4 separate regions of the Homo sapiens genome follow, and all the other regions are linked to region 1. The links are contacts of gene promoters, found by promoter capture Hi-C in blood cells and fetal thymus (Javierre and others, 2016). All regions are on one chromosome and are shown on one strand. Each heading gives the region's core, a stretch centred on a gene start or on the middle of the fragment in contact. The rest is flanking DNA. Distances are from core to core; before and after follow the strand shown. Region 1 holds the start of UBAC1 (UBA domain containing 1). Region 2 overlaps CCDC187 (coiled-coil domain containing 187). Region 3 overlaps QSOX2 (quiescin sulfhydryl oxidase 2). Region 4 overlaps CARD9 (caspase recruitment domain family member 9).

Region 1 (3,464 bases), core at 758-3,257:
CCAGGCCGGCTGCCCAGTGTTTGTCTCCAGCCCAGGCCTCTCTCCTCAACTTCAGTCCTGTAGGTCCAGCTGCCTCCAGGCCACCTCCGTGTGAATGCCCCCAGCACATCCAGGTCCCCGTGTCCAAAACTACCCAACACCTTCCTGGCCAATGGCTCCTCCTCCTGCCTCCTACTTCAAAAGGTGGCACTGCCCTGCACTCTGCCACCCACACTGGAAGTCTTCAAGTCATCCTTGATTTCACTCTTGGGCCCACACCCTCCAATCCTGCTGGCCTCCCCTCCCACAGGCCACTGGAAGCCCCCTTCTCCTCTTCCTCTCCCTCCGCATTGCTCCCCCGCAAGGATGCCCTGCCCTCTTCCCTGTCCCCTCCACAGTCACCACCATTCATTCTGCCACCTGGTCACACCGTTAGTGGCTCTCACAGCAACGTCTTAATGCTCTGACCCGGCTCCTCCAAGCCCTCTAGCTTCCCCCACTCTCCACTCACCACCTTGGTGTTCCTCCCCTTTCTCCTCCACCAGCTTCCACGATACTACCACCACCTCCACTGCGGTCTCTAACAGTCGGTACTTCTGCTTCCTGCGTTAAAAATGCCCCATTCCAGGACTGTATCCTGGTGTCTGGTCTTAATCACTACCATATTTTCATTGAGTAGCAGAGGCTCCCACCTGTGAGAGGCAATTAGTAAGTGCTGAACTGGACACATGGAATCTGGACGAGGTTGGAATTATCACAGGAGAAAAATGAGGATGTGTGTGCAAAATGGTGTGGACAGAATAAAAGCCTGCAGGCAGGAGGCAGAGACAGCCTCCCCGGTTAGATTGCTAACCTCTGAGAACGGGAACTGTGCCTTATTCATCTCTGCGCAGTAAAGTTTTTTTAAATGAATGGGATGAATGAGTACAGATCAGTCAATGTGTCAGGTCTAACCTGAACTACAAAATTCATATTTAGGAGCATGGTAAGTAAGACGTTATCCAGGACTGTTGAGCTAGGTACAGAGACCACTGCCAAGGGGGCTTGCAGTGGGGAGAGAGGTCAGGCTCAACTCCCAATACAGCAAGGGCAAGTGGGTGGGGTCAGTGAATGGAAAATTAATAGGAGAAAACATCAGGGATGTGGGCGGTTCTGGCTAAACCGACCTGACAGGGTTCTTGCTGAAGAGAGGCTGGAGATATCAGACAGCACCTGGGGGACGAGGAACCTGACCAGACGTCCAGGGTGATCTGATATTGAGGCTGGGAGTTCTTGCTAAACTCACTTATCAAGGCTCTTCGCTAAAACTGGATTTTACAAGGAAGTGTACAGATGATGTAGAAGGTTCAGGAGCCTGCTTAAGTTTGGCCAAGCAAAGACTCTTTGTCACACCCCACAGAAAATGAGTCTGCCTGGCATCACCTGCACCAAGGGCGGCTTCCCTCCCCTCTGGGTGCCCCGCAAACCTAGGCTTCGCAGGAACAGTGACTCTCTGATCTGCGTGTGAATTAGAAAGACCTAGGCTTGTTAAAGCCAAGTTCTTTGGAGAGCCTCCGTTCTACAGCAGTGCAGTGCAAAAGAAATATCACAGCAGCCATGTAGGCAATTTAAAATTCTATCTTAAAAAGGTTAAAAGAAACAGGTGAAATTAATTTTAATGACATATTTTTCTTAACTCAATAGATACAAAATATTATTTCAACATGTAATCAATATGAAAACATTATCGAGATGCCTTACATTCCTTTTTCCCGTTACTTCTTTGGGATCCAGCGTGTATTTTACCTTTAGAACCCATGAGGTCCCACGTGGTGAGTGCCCCGGGTGGGAACCGCCTGCAGCTCGGGGAGGAACGAAGCTACCAGAGAACTACAGCTCCCGGCATGCTCCGGGCGCGCCCCGTGACGCACTTCCTTTGCGGTGGCCACAGCGCGCCCCCGGCGGCGGGAGCGAGGCGCCTGTCCGAGAACCACATCTCCCGGCATGCGCCAGACGCGCCCGTGACGCACTTCCGGTGCGGCCGCGACGGCGCGCCCCCGGCGGCTGCTGCGGCGGCGGGAGCGAGGCGACCGCTGAGGCCGCGGAGAGTGACGGCGGCCCGGCCGACGGGAGCCGGGGCGGGGCGGCGGCCCAGCGAAGGAGCGCGCGGGCGGTCTGGCCCCGCCCCCTCCCCGCCCGCCTTCCCGGTGACCTTCAGGGGCCCGGGTGGCGGGCGCAGGCCCCTGCGGCGGCGGCGGGATGTTCGTGCAGGAGGAGAAGATCTTCGCGGGCAAGGTGCTGCGGCTGCACATCTGCGCGTCCGACGGCGCCGAGTGGCTGGAGGAGGCCACCGAGGACACCTCGGTGGAGAAGCTCAAGGAGCGCTGCCTCAAGCACGTAAGGCCGGGCCCCCTCCCCTGCCCCCAACACCCGCTCCGGACCCCTCCGACTGCGGACCCCGCCTCAGTCCCCGAACCGCCCCGACCTGGGGTCCGCCGCCCAGTCCGCAGCTCCCAGGCCCTCTCCTCCGGGGGTGGAGGCAGCGCCTCCTGCCCGTTTGCCCGACTCTCCCCCTTTCGGATCCCACACCTCTGGACGCTCGTCCCGGGCCTGGCCTTTCGGCCGGCGGACTCCGGTCACTAAGCGCTCGCCCCGTGCCAGCCGCCCGGCCGAGCCCTGTACACGCCAGCCTCTCAGTTAACTCTGCAGCCACGCAGGGAGGTAGGGGCAGATCGGGAAACTGAGGCCTGGAGAGTGAAGTCGCCGACGGAGCAGGGCCTCGGGACTTTCCGGCAGTTGTACCTTTTTGCTGTTGGGGTGAGGTTTTTTTTCAGCAGCATCTTTGAGAGCTGAGAATTAACGTAGGCTCCTTCATGAAGAGGCCCCTTCTCCTTCCTCTTCCCCTTTCCCGCAGAGCCGGCTGCTTGGAGCTCTTTTCCTGGCTGGCCCCAGGCCACTGTGCCTTTTAGCTGGAGTCCCTGAAATAGTGCCGCTGCGGGACAAGGCCCTGCGCCCCTGCTTTTCTGCAGAGGTAAAATTGGTCAAGAGAGAAGTCCCAGGAGTAGGGTCTCCTCGCGGAGACACTTTTTAAAGTTTATTCACCTGAAATACTCCTGTGTATTTAGTTCCTTAGGTTGCTGATTTTTGGAACTAGTTCTCGAGTCTCTAAAGGACTCAGTAAGGTCAGCTAAGAAGCCTGTCTGTGTGTCAGACTGACCTCCTGTCTATACCTGACATGATCTGAGGGCTTGGCAGAATTTAGGTTGAAGGAGGCTGCAATTTTCTAGTGGCGACTCCATGTGATAAGTTACGACGTATCTGTGTTGACAGGTTGAGTGCGTTACACTTGAGCTGAGTGTGGTCTCTAAGGATAAACTTCAGTTCTTACCATAGTAGCTGCTCGCATACAGTACTTTCGAGTTGCTTTTGTGAGCATGGTTCTGTGGAGTTCTGGAACTGTCAGAGGCAAGCTTGGCAAGCCCCCTTCTGGAACGCACTGGCTGTGA
Region 2 (3,421 bases), core at 741-3,240, 300 kb before region 1:
GCACAGCACCAGGCCGCGCTGCTGCGCCTGCGAGAGATGGCGCTCCAGGAGAAAACGCTCGCGGAGCTGGCCTGGCTGGAGCATCGACGAGGGTGAGCGCATGCGCCTGGCGCCGGCCCCGCCCCGCCGTAGCCCCGCCCTGCTGTAGCCCCGCCCTGCTGTAGCCCCGCCCCCTCCCTGCCCCGTCCGGGTCCCGCCCGTGGCCCCGACAGCGTTTTGAGAAACAAGAGGTACTGGTCCAAACAGTAATAGGTGTTTGCTGAAACTTACATAAGGCAGTAAAGTACTCAATACACAAATAAAAAAATACCCCCATCGTTCCAAAGGTGACCTCTGAGATCATCTTTGTGCATACTTTGTTTTTTTGTTTTGTTTTGTTTTGTTTTGAGACAGAGTTTCGCTCTTGTTGCTCAGGCTGGAGTGTAGAGGCGCGTGGCGCGATCTAGGCTCACTGCAACCTCCGCCTCCCAGGTTCAAGGGATTCTCCTGCCTCAGTCTCCCGAGTAGCTGGGACTACAGGTGTGCGCCACCACGCCCAGCTAATTTTGTATTTTTAGTAGAGATGGGGTTTCTCCATGTTGGTCAGGCTGGTCTCGAACTCCCTACCTCAGTTGATCCGCCAGCCACGGCCTCTCAAAGTGCTGGGATTACAGGCGAGAGCCACCACGCCCAGTGCGGATACTCTGTTTTGGGGAGAAACACACATGGCTATTTCAACTTGCAAATGGGCAGTACGTGCTGTTTTGTAACTTGCGTTTTCAATTTATATGTCAGGAAAACCTTTCTGTGTAGCTACATAACCGCTATAACACACAGGGCGCACCGGCGTAGAGACAGGGCTGTAACTCCCTTCGCTTGTCCCGGATCTCCGGGCCTCTAGGTTGTCTCCAACGTTTTGCCATTATTAATGAAGATAGAGAGATCATTTCCTTAAGGTAAAACCTTAGAAATGGAATGACCGGGTCAGTGAGAATGCATCTGGAAGCCGCTTGATACTGCCACATTGGTCTCCAGAAAGGTGATTCCAGTTAACATCCTCACCCGGTGTCTGAGCGGGCCAGACTGAGGGTGTTTATTCCATGATGGGTGGGGGGTGGATGTGGGTGACCCCCACCTCCCTCCCCAGAGGACCCACTGGCCTGGGCTGGGCCTTCAGGGTGGCAGGGGCGGCTCTCGGCTAGCCTTTGTCTCTTTAGACCCAAAAGTCCAAAAGTGGCTGTGAGGGGTGGAAGAGTGACAGCCCGGGTTGGGCCATCTGGCCACCCCAAGGCTTCCAAGCCTGTCCACGCATGGCTGCGTCCTCCCTGGTGCCTGCACCTTGGGAGGGCATTCCAGGTTGATGTGGCCGACCAGGGCTGGCTGTGTCTGTGACTTTCTATATCCACTTGCACGGGCTGTCAACATTGGCAGTGATGTTGCCACCTCCCCCCAGGTGCCTGGACAGCAAGAGGGACAGAGCTGTGCTGGCCGCGCTGGTTGAGAAGCAGCAGCAAGCCCTCAGCAGATTGGAGAAGGAGCAGGTGGGGCCAGCACAGGCCTGGTGGGTCAGGGTGGGCGGCTCACAGAGGCAGTCGTGTCATCTTCTTGCCTGGAATCTGAACATTCCCCAGCAACAGAGCTAAAGAATTCCCAAGCCCTTGCCACCCTCCAGGGCCATACAGGACCCCGAAGTATAGAAGGAGTGTCCACGGCCCAAGAGGGCATCACGGCCAGGGTGGAGCGTGGTCCTGTACACAAGGAGTGTCTGCGGCCTTCTGGGGGCCTCGTGGCCAGAGTGGAGGGTGGCCCTGTGGCCCTGGCTCCAGACCAGGCTCAGCCTTTTGCTGGATGTCACCTTGAGCAAGTGGCTTTGTCTCTTGGAGCCTCAGTTTCCTCCTTGGAACCAGAGAATAATTGTGGTCTCTGTAAAGCAGGGGGTTGGGAGAGTTTAGTGCAGCCAGCACTTACCCGGGTGGACGTGTGCCATGTACGCCCTCAGAGGACTTTCCCAGCTGCTCCGAGCCCAGTTCCCTCATCTGAAAAATGGGGAGAAGCCTGATGTGCACATGCATGGGGGCTGGGAGGGTGGTGCAGGTGAATCCCTAGCCGCGCCTGGCAGGGAGGGGTCTCCATCCGTGGCTGCACCTGCCTTCCTGCCATCGTTGTCACCAGGGACTGGAGGAAGCAGACCCCCAGGGAAAGTCGGTGCTGGGGGCACATGTGGAGGGGGGAAAAGCTGCCAGAGTCAGGGCTTTGCCTGCGGCAGAGAGCAAGGCTGAGGGGCAAGCCTGAGAGCCAGGACGAGGACCCTTGCCGGCCCCTGCCCAGGTCACAGGCTCAAGGGCTCCTCACAGGTCGCGGCCGCTGTGCCTGCATCCTCACTTCAGTGCCCCCATGCTGTGGGGCAGAGGCTGGCGCTAACACCCTTGGTACAGATAAAAGAACCTGGCTGGGTGAGGCAGTTCATCCGTAATTCCAGCACTTTGGGAGGCCAAGGTGGGAGGATCGCTTGAGCCCAGGAATGTGAGACAGGCCTGGGCAACATAGCAAGACCCCGTCTCTACAAAAAATAAATCTGCCACTATAGGTGGCCAATGCCTATAGTCCCAGCTATTTGGTGGACTGAGATGGGAGGATTGCTTGAGCTTGGGAGGTCAAGGCTGCAGTGAGCTGAGCTTGCACCACTGCACTCCAGCCTGGGCAACAGAGTGAGACCTTGTTTCAAAAAAAAAAAAGGTGAGCTGGGGTGGGGGACTACTTTGCCCACGACCCTCTGCTGGGAAATGGGGTCAGTGCAGGACCTTATGTTGACTGGAAAGCCCCGGGATCCCCATCCCTGCCCTGGATGCCCTGTACATACTACGACCTGGGGTGTCAGGCATGGGGCATTACAGGCAAGGGAGCTGGGGGCGGAGACCCAGGCCACAGACCCATGCACAGGTCCTCTCAGATACGGAGAAACAGGAAAAGGCAGGCACCACAGAGAACAACGTGAGCCGGGGAAACAAAAGGGGCTTAGAAGGGGTCTGCATGTCACATGGCAACGACGGGGCCTGGCAGAACAGGCGCTGCCCAGGGATCCCAGGCGGGAGGAGCTGGAGCTGGCCGGGGCCAGGGACTCCCAGCCACAGCCAGGCTGCGTGTCGCAGATAGAGATGCCGTGGTGGAGGTGGGGTCTGGGACTCCCCAGTGGGGCCATGGACCAGACACCCGCTTGGCAGAGCCTCGCTTTCCCGTCTCACCAGTGAAGCTGCTGTCTCCCAGGGCGAGTGTGCAACGGCCCGGCCCGGCCCTGGGCTCTGTGCAAGGTTGTTCCGAGGGTGCGTCCACCAGGGACGCTGTGGGGAACAGAAAGAACAGTTGTAAAGGAGTGACGGGGTGGGGGCAGTGCCTGGAGCCTGCAGAGAGGGAGGGCGAGGCCCAGCCAGCCTGTGCCAGCCCT
Region 3 (3,442 bases), core at 791-3,290, 280 kb before region 1:
CTCAGTAAGCCTCCTTTAGTGAGGCTGACTGTCTTCCCAGTCACGACAGGAAGAACAGGCTTGTGCCTGAGACTGAGACTGGAGGAGGATATGGCTGAAAGTGAAAGACAGCGGTGACCTGACCAGGCAGCAGGGAGAGGGCTTCAGGGAGCCCAGGCAGAGGGTCCTGTTGGCTAAAAAGCCAAACTATAAAATACTGAAAGAGGTTTGTTCTGAGCCAATAAGTGTAGTGGCCATGGCCAGGGGAACAGTGTCAAGAGGTCCTAAGAAAGTGTGCTCTAGGCAGTCACGTTAATTTGATTTTATACATTTTAGGGAGACAGAAGTTATAGGCAGAGAGACATAAATCAGTACATGTAAGGTATAGGAAGGGGTAGGTTTACAGATCATAGGTGGATTCTGACTGGCAATTGATTGAAAGAGTTAAGCTTTGTCTAAAGACTTGAAGTCAGCAAAGAGAAATGCTTGAGTTAAGCTAAAGGGGCTGTGGAGGCCAAGGTTAAGTAGATGAAGCCTCACAGGCAGCAGCCTTGGGGAGAATAGAGGGTAAATGTCTCTTTTCAGACCTGAATGCTGTCAGACTCGTTAAATGTCTCCTAGATCCAGGAAAGACCTAGAAAGGGAGGGAGATTCTCTACAGATGCAAATTTCCCTCACAAAAGACAGCTTTGCAGGACCATTTCAAATATGTCAGGGAAATAAATGTATTTGGGGGTGAAATATTTTGATTTCCTGCAGGGTGTGCTATTTGTCATGTGGTGCTGTACCCGAGTCAGGCTGGAGTTTGGTGTCGTTGCTGCTGAGGCTGTGCTGTCTGTCTGTGATCTCTGTTTCATCACGCTGGTCAGCTCTGCCTAAACTCCAAAGGGAGGTGATGTAACCAGGCGTGTCTGACCTCCCTTGCCGTCAGGGCCTGGAATTTCTTTCCTCAGGTTGCCCTGGGGTCTCCTTGGCCAAGAGGGGGTTCAATTCAGTCAGTTAGGGGACTCAGGATTTTATTTTTGGTTTACAGTCCTGAGAGCCAAGCTGTGCCCATGAGGCTTGTGGGAGGTAGAGTCCGGGTAGAAAGGGATGAAAGGCCCTTGGCACTGAGGAGTCCCCGGAGCTGTTCTAAGGCTGGGACTCTCAAAGTAGGGCCACTTAGGGCCTTGTTAGAAATGCCTGCTTCTCCACAGCCCCAGCCCAGACCTGCCAGCTCAGAACTGTCTGCTTGGCGCCTGGCTCCCTGTCTGTCATCCCTGCGTGGAGCTGTCCCACAGGGATAGGGCGCCCATTGCCCGTGGCAGTGCAGGGGTCTGGCTGCATGCAGGCATTCCCGTTGTCAACATTCTCATGTTTTCTTATGTCCCTGTTGACCTGACTCAGATCAGTCACCTGTGGCCCTGATCAATCACCTGTGACTTAGGTCATCCTGCTGATCCCCTGGGGGCACACAGGCCATGGCTTGGGCCCCCACTTCTACCTAGAGTGTCCAGCCGCCTTCTCCCACTGGTCCCCCTGGCCAGCGCCCGCCACGCCCTGCGTTCTTCATGCCTGTGGCTGCTGGAGAGGATGGTTAGGTGTGGGCTCTGCTTCCCAGGAGCCTCCAGCTGGAAGGAGCAGGACAGGCCAGGGCACCTTTGTTTTCCTCAGAAATTTGGATTGAACTTTAGCTCTTGACTGGCTTTTTCAAGGCTGGGAAAATAAATGTTTTTTCTTATAAGAAGGTGGCTTAAGAAACAAAAGTTGTACTGTTTGGTGTGACCAAGTGTCATTCTAGTGTTTGTGGAGATTTGGCTTAAGCCTGTCACTTCTAAGTACTTTGCAGAACAAAACCTTGTTGGGTTCCTGAAGATCTGCCTGGCAGTGATGGTTGCTGGGTTTGTGATGGAAGATGAGGCACCAGGGCCTGGGGCTACACTTTGGCCCGTCTGACCGGTGAGATCTCCGAAATGCCTCTGCAGTCTTGAGTGGACAAGAGGGTGCACCCTAAAGGCAGGGCCTGTGTCCCCGTGCGCCCTCTGTGGCCCTGGTGCCTGTTCCCTCCCATCTCCTTCACTTGGTCAGCCTGAGAAAACAGGGCAGGCCACCACCCACAACAGGCTGAGTCCTCCTAGACCTGCCCTCAGGAGGGCGGGAACGCTTATGTTGTAGATGATAGCACATGAGGTTGCGTGGAACAGGCCGAGTCCTCCCACACCTGTCCTCAGGAGTGCGGGGGCGCTCATGTTGCAGGTGATAGCACGTGAGGTTGCGTGGGATAGTCACGGTCACGCAGCTGAGTGACAGGCCGGGATGGGTGTCCAGGTGTGGGTGACCTGGAGCCATGGCAGTTCATTCCTGTGTCTTTGTAGAGGACAGGTGGGGGTTGGGAGCTGGACACATCCGACATCTCTTGAAGGAAGGGTAGGGCATTCTGTGATTGCTGCCAGCTCCTCTGTCCCACTTGGTCTGGTTTCTTGTCTACTCGACTAGGCTGCAGGCTTCTTGGAGATGAATTAGAACTTGGTGTTCCCCACAGGCTCATTGTCCGTTTACTGGAAAAAGAAACAATAAGGGCCAGAGGGAGGGGGACATGCAGGTGTCAGCGGGCATTTGGCGGGGCTGACGGCCCGTGAGAGCTGCCAGGTGCTCACTGGACTCGGGAGGATGGAGAGGGTGGAAGGAGGAAGAGTTGGGCAGTGGAGGCCTCCTGTCTCCTTACGGGCCCAGAAATGGCTTAATGTAGCCCCGCTGTGGCGACCACATGAGTATTTTACAGAAAGGATGGTGCATCGGAGCAGCCGGGCTCCCCGCTGGCCTCCCCAGTGGCTGTGGTTGGTGCGTCTGAGACTACACCGAGAGACCCAGGCCACTTACTTGTTGTTGAAGTAAGACGGGATGGTTTGCTAAGAGGGCCTTACAGCCACGTCCAGGGAGCCGTCTCCGCTGTGTCATGCCGGTCGTCGTGCCATGGGGTGACCCAGGTCATAAGCACTGCTTGGGCTTCCCTGACAGAGGACGGGCTGAGGGACTGTCATTCCCTACCAACAGATAAACAGCATTGGAATTGCTGTCACCTCGGAGCACCCTTCGAGGCTGAAGAACGTGTAGTTTTGGTTTACCAGAATTGAGTTAAATGCTGGGGATCAAGAGTCCATGGGACCCAGCCCTGCCCTCAGTCCCCAGATGAGGCGACCGTAGCGTGTGCCCGGGTTTTCTCAGACCAGCCCTTGGCAACTTCTAGGTGATTTGTGTTAGGCTCTCCTGGTCGCTAGGTGGGTTTCATTTCTACCCAGGCCTGTTATTCCAAACTTGTGCCTTGAACTTGGAGCTTAGCTAAGAAGACCTTTGCTCAGCCAAGAGGGGGCTCCACCCAGAGAGGGTCTTCTCCAGGGACTGGTATGCGGAGTTCGAGACCCCAGCATGGCCCTGACTCAGGAAGGAGAGGCTGCAGTGGACCTCTGTCCCTTAAACACAGCTC
Region 4 (3,340 bases), core at 653-3,152, 400 kb before region 1:
TATGGACAGTCAGGGTCTCCATATCAAGCCGCGTCCAAAATTTATCAAATGTGCACGTGTGGGGGTACATAGCACACGCTGTGTCCACCGGGGGTGCAGGCTTGGGAGGAGACAGAAGGGCAGCAGGGACAACTGTCACATTTACAATCCCCCACGTGCTGACTTCGTGTCCGCAGAGCACACAAATGGAGGGGCTGTGACCAGCCTCCGCGCCCAGCGGCTTGACGTCCTCCGGAGCCTCTGCTTGGAGTTGGGCGGCCGGGCCGAGGGCCCAGGGCAAGCTTGGGGCCCTCACTGAGGGTCGGCCTTGTGCTGTCCCGTCAGGCCATAGCCACGCGGGAGGAGCTGCACGCACAGCACGCCCGGGGCCTGCAGGAGAAGGACGCGCTGCGCAAGCAGGTGCGGGAGCTGGGCGAGAAGGCGGATGAGCTGCAGCTGCAGGTGTTCCAGTGTGAGGCGCAGCTACTGGCCGTGGAGGGCAGGCTCAGGCGGCAGCAGCTGGAGACGCTCGTCCTGGTGGGCCTGGGGCCTGCGGCAGGGAGGGGAGCCGGCGCGTGGGATGCAGGGCCAGGGGAGCACGGAGCCTCAGCCCCGGCCTTCCCGACCCAACCCTTCTCTGTGACGGGCCCCAACCTAACCAAACCCCTCCTGGCAGTGGGGTGAGGGCACACGAGCAGTTCAGGGTCCCAGCAGGAAGTGGGGCTGCAGGGCCGGGGTGGGTCCTGGGCCTGGCCATCAGGCAGCCTAGCAGGTTGTTCTGGGCATGGAGGGGGCCTGGTGTGGCTGAGGGCATGCCCAGGGCTCCCTGGAGGATCCCGCTCTGTGCCCTGCCCACCCTGTGCCTGGGGAGCCCTCTGCCCTCACAGCCCACCCACCCCATTTTCTATGACCACAGAGCTCCGACCTGGAAGATGGCTCACCCAGGAGGTCCCAGGAGGTGAGTGAGACCCCAGCCAGCACGAGGCTGGCCTTCCTTCACCTGGGGTCCTGGCTGAGCTGCCACCAGGCATAGCCCCACACTGCCCGTCACATGGCCCTGCTCGGTGGGCTGGGCTGGGTGGAGGAAGAGCAGGTGGCCAAATGCTAAGGCCTCTGATGGCTCAAGGGGTAAGGTAAGGCACGGACAGTGCCCACCTCCTGGCCGCCCAATGTCCGTCTGCTGGGCACCTGAGTCTCTGAGAAGCTCTGTGCAGGGGGTGACGGCAATGGCTGCACCCAGCTGAGGGCCAAGGGCTGGGGTGGGCAGTGTGGCCGGGTCCAGTCCTTGGCGAAGTGGCCTAATGGGACATCTTGACTCTCTTTGGAAGCTCTCACTCCCCCAGGACCTGGAGGACACCCAGCTCTCAGACAAAGGTGAGGTGGGGACAGCAGTACACCCAGAGGCCTCCCAGCTTCCCCAAGTGAGGCCCATCTTCAGCACAGGCAGCCCGTGCCGCAATGCCTGTGTCAACCCCCACAACCCCCACTCCACAGACAGGGAAACTGGGGCTGGGGATAAGTAAAATGGTCAAGGTCACCTAGAGAACAAACTACAGAGCCCAGCTGGAACCCAGGGCCCCAGCTAGTGGGACAAGTGTCCCCTGGGGTGGAGAGTGTGGGGGTCTGGGCAGCCCCCATGGGCTGCAGAGGTGAGCAGGCCCACCGTCCTGAGAGTGTGGGGCCCCTCTGGGCAGCCCCCACGGGGTGCAGAGGTGAGCAGGCCCAGTCCTGGCTGCTCCAAGCTTCCTCCTGGACAGAGGGAGGTGGTAACGAGCGAACGACCAGGTGCATGAAGCTAGAAGATGGGGCGAGATGGGGCCCCACGTGGCTTGAGGGAAAGGGCTGAATGCAGGGGTGGCCAAGGGCCTGCTGTGTCCCGGTGCAGTGGGGGTAAGGCAGTGGCAGGGGCTTCTAGCGGGCAGGGCAGGCCCCCTCTGCCTGTCTGGGGGAAGGACTGGGTGGCTAGCTGGGAGCAGCTCCCGAGTGTCCAGGAGTGGGCAGTGGTGATGAGGTAGGTGTTTGCACTGAAGGTGCTGTCAGGTAGGGGTTGGGGAGGGCCCAGCAGAGGGGTCCTGGGAGGCTGCACCGGAGTTGGACAAGCTTCCTGAGTACCAGGCCGTGGCCTCCAAGCAGAGGCGGAAGGGGAAGGAGGAGCCGCAGACGGGGAAGTGAAGACCAGCGCCTTTGGCTGCAGCTCAGAACACTTGAACATGGGGATGCCAAGCCCCCATGTAGGCACAGAGGCGAGCAGGACCCAGGAGTCCGGCTCAGGCACTGCCCCCATCCCCCTGGGTGGCTGTGGCAGGAGCAGGGGCAGGTGTGAAGGTTGGAGGGTGAGCAGGGGAGGGGCTGGCTCTAAGGGGCTGCCAATGGCCAGGACAGCCCTGGCCTGGCCCTCACCGCAGTGGGGCTGAGACTGGACGTGCGTGGTTTCTGCCCAAGGGTCCTGATCCCTGGTCTGCCCAGGTCCTGGCGGTTTCTGAGGGGGTCCAGCCGCCTGAAGGTTCTCTCCCAATTGCTGCAGTACCCCTGCCCCCACTTCAGGAGGACCCAGACAGCCACTGTAGCTGTCCCCAACTCTCTCCCCAGGGCCGCCATGCCCACAGATGCTTTGGAGTGATGGGGGACGGTGCTGCTCAGGCCCAGGGTTTAAGTTCCCCCGAGGTCTGGGAGGCGTTCCTCCCTGGCAGGCAGCCAGCTCGGGGGAGGGATGGTCACTGGCGGGAGCGTTGGGCCTGGGCTGGCATCTGGCGGCCTCCTGGAGCAATGAACAGGCAAGCGAGGCCATAAGGCCTCAGTCTCATCTACAGAAAGCAGAGTCTACACTGGACCCATGTGGGGATCCCACCAGGCCTTGGAAGACAGCCCCACTGCAATGCCGGGGAGGGGTGGGGCAGCCGTGCTATACGTGGCCCAGCAGATGGGCAGGTCCCACAGGCACGACTCTCCTTTCCAGGCTGCCTTGCCGGCGGGGGGAGCCCGAAACAGCCCTTTGCAGCTCTGCACCAGGAGCAGGTTTTGCGGAACCCCCATGTAAGGCTTCCCCGGGGTGGGGTCCTCCCAGCCGTGGGCCTCAGGGTGACCGATCACAGGGAGAGTGGCTCCCTGCCCTGGGCACCCCCTGCGGTGGCCCCGACGACAGCTGAGGAGTGACCACAAGGTCTCTGCCCACAGTGCTCGGGGTGCGGTGTCTGGGCTGCGAAGTGGATCCCCCTTTCTTGGGCACTGCAGCAGCTTGGGGGGCTTTTTGGACGTGGATGTGCCTGGTCCTGGTTTTCCGAGGGCCTTTACAGTGGATGAGGAGGTGAACACAGGAGTCCTGAGAGCAAGCACCACCTCGGGCTTTGTTGTAGAAACAATG

What was found. Contacts are between HindIII fragments. The CHiCAGO score rates a contact against its expected background, and 5 or more counts as called.
Region 2: a fragment that was not itself captured here is called in contact with the fragment with the promoter of UBAC1 in region 1 in 9 of 17 cell types (naive CD4 T cells, total CD8 T cells, total B cells and 6 more); the score reaches 7.3 in naive CD4 T cells.
Region 3: a fragment that was not itself captured here is called in contact with the fragment with the promoter of UBAC1 in region 1 in 17 of 17 cell types (total CD8 T cells, naive CD4 T cells, naive CD8 T cells and 14 more); the score reaches 21.8 in total CD8 T cells.
Region 4: a contact is called between a fragment that was not itself captured here and the fragment with the promoter of UBAC1 in region 1, in 4 of 17 cell types (naive B cells, total CD8 T cells, total B cells and 1 more). The highest score is 7.2, in naive B cells.

The regions. Positions count from the first base shown.
Region 1 is chr9:135,959,916-135,963,379 of GRCh38, reverse strand. UBAC1 (UBA domain containing 1) reads left to right here and starts at 2,007. Exons shown (of 10, transcript NM_016172.3): 1 at 2,007-2,355. The coding sequence starts at 2,218. RefSeq lists silencers at 1,858-2,267, 2,278-2,397 and an enhancer at 1,887-2,387. The HindIII fragment of the contact is 10,703 bases long and covers 1-3,430 here.
Region 2 is chr9:136,264,055-136,267,475 of GRCh38, reverse strand. It overlaps CCDC187 (coiled-coil domain containing 187), which reads left to right. Exons shown (of 26, transcript NM_001378188.1): 16 at 1-92; 17 at 1,433-1,520. Among named protein-coding and RNA genes, the nearest start is that of QSOX2, 20 kb to the right of the region's middle. RefSeq lists silencers at 1-15, 80-239. The HindIII fragment of the contact is 7,726 bases long and covers 1-3,421 here.
Region 3 is chr9:136,240,450-136,243,891 of GRCh38, reverse strand. The region is part of intron 1 of QSOX2 (quiescin sulfhydryl oxidase 2); the gene reads left to right. Among named protein-coding and RNA genes, the nearest start is that of QSOX2, 3.6 kb to the left of the region's middle. The HindIII fragment of the contact is 3,219 bases long and covers 431-3,442 here.
Region 4 is chr9:136,364,813-136,368,152 of GRCh38, reverse strand. It overlaps CARD9 (caspase recruitment domain family member 9), which reads left to right. Exons shown (of 13, transcript NM_052813.5): 8 at 325-516; 9 at 896-937; 10 at 1,308-1,353; 11 at 2,936-3,012. It overlaps LOC124902309 (a long non-coding RNA gene), which reads right to left. Exons shown (of 2, transcript XR_007061863.1): 2 at 1-529. Among named protein-coding and RNA genes, the nearest start is that of DNLZ, 2.7 kb to the right of the region's middle. RefSeq lists enhancers at 2,052-2,941, 2,942-3,340. The HindIII fragment of the contact is 358 bases long and covers 1,724-2,081 here.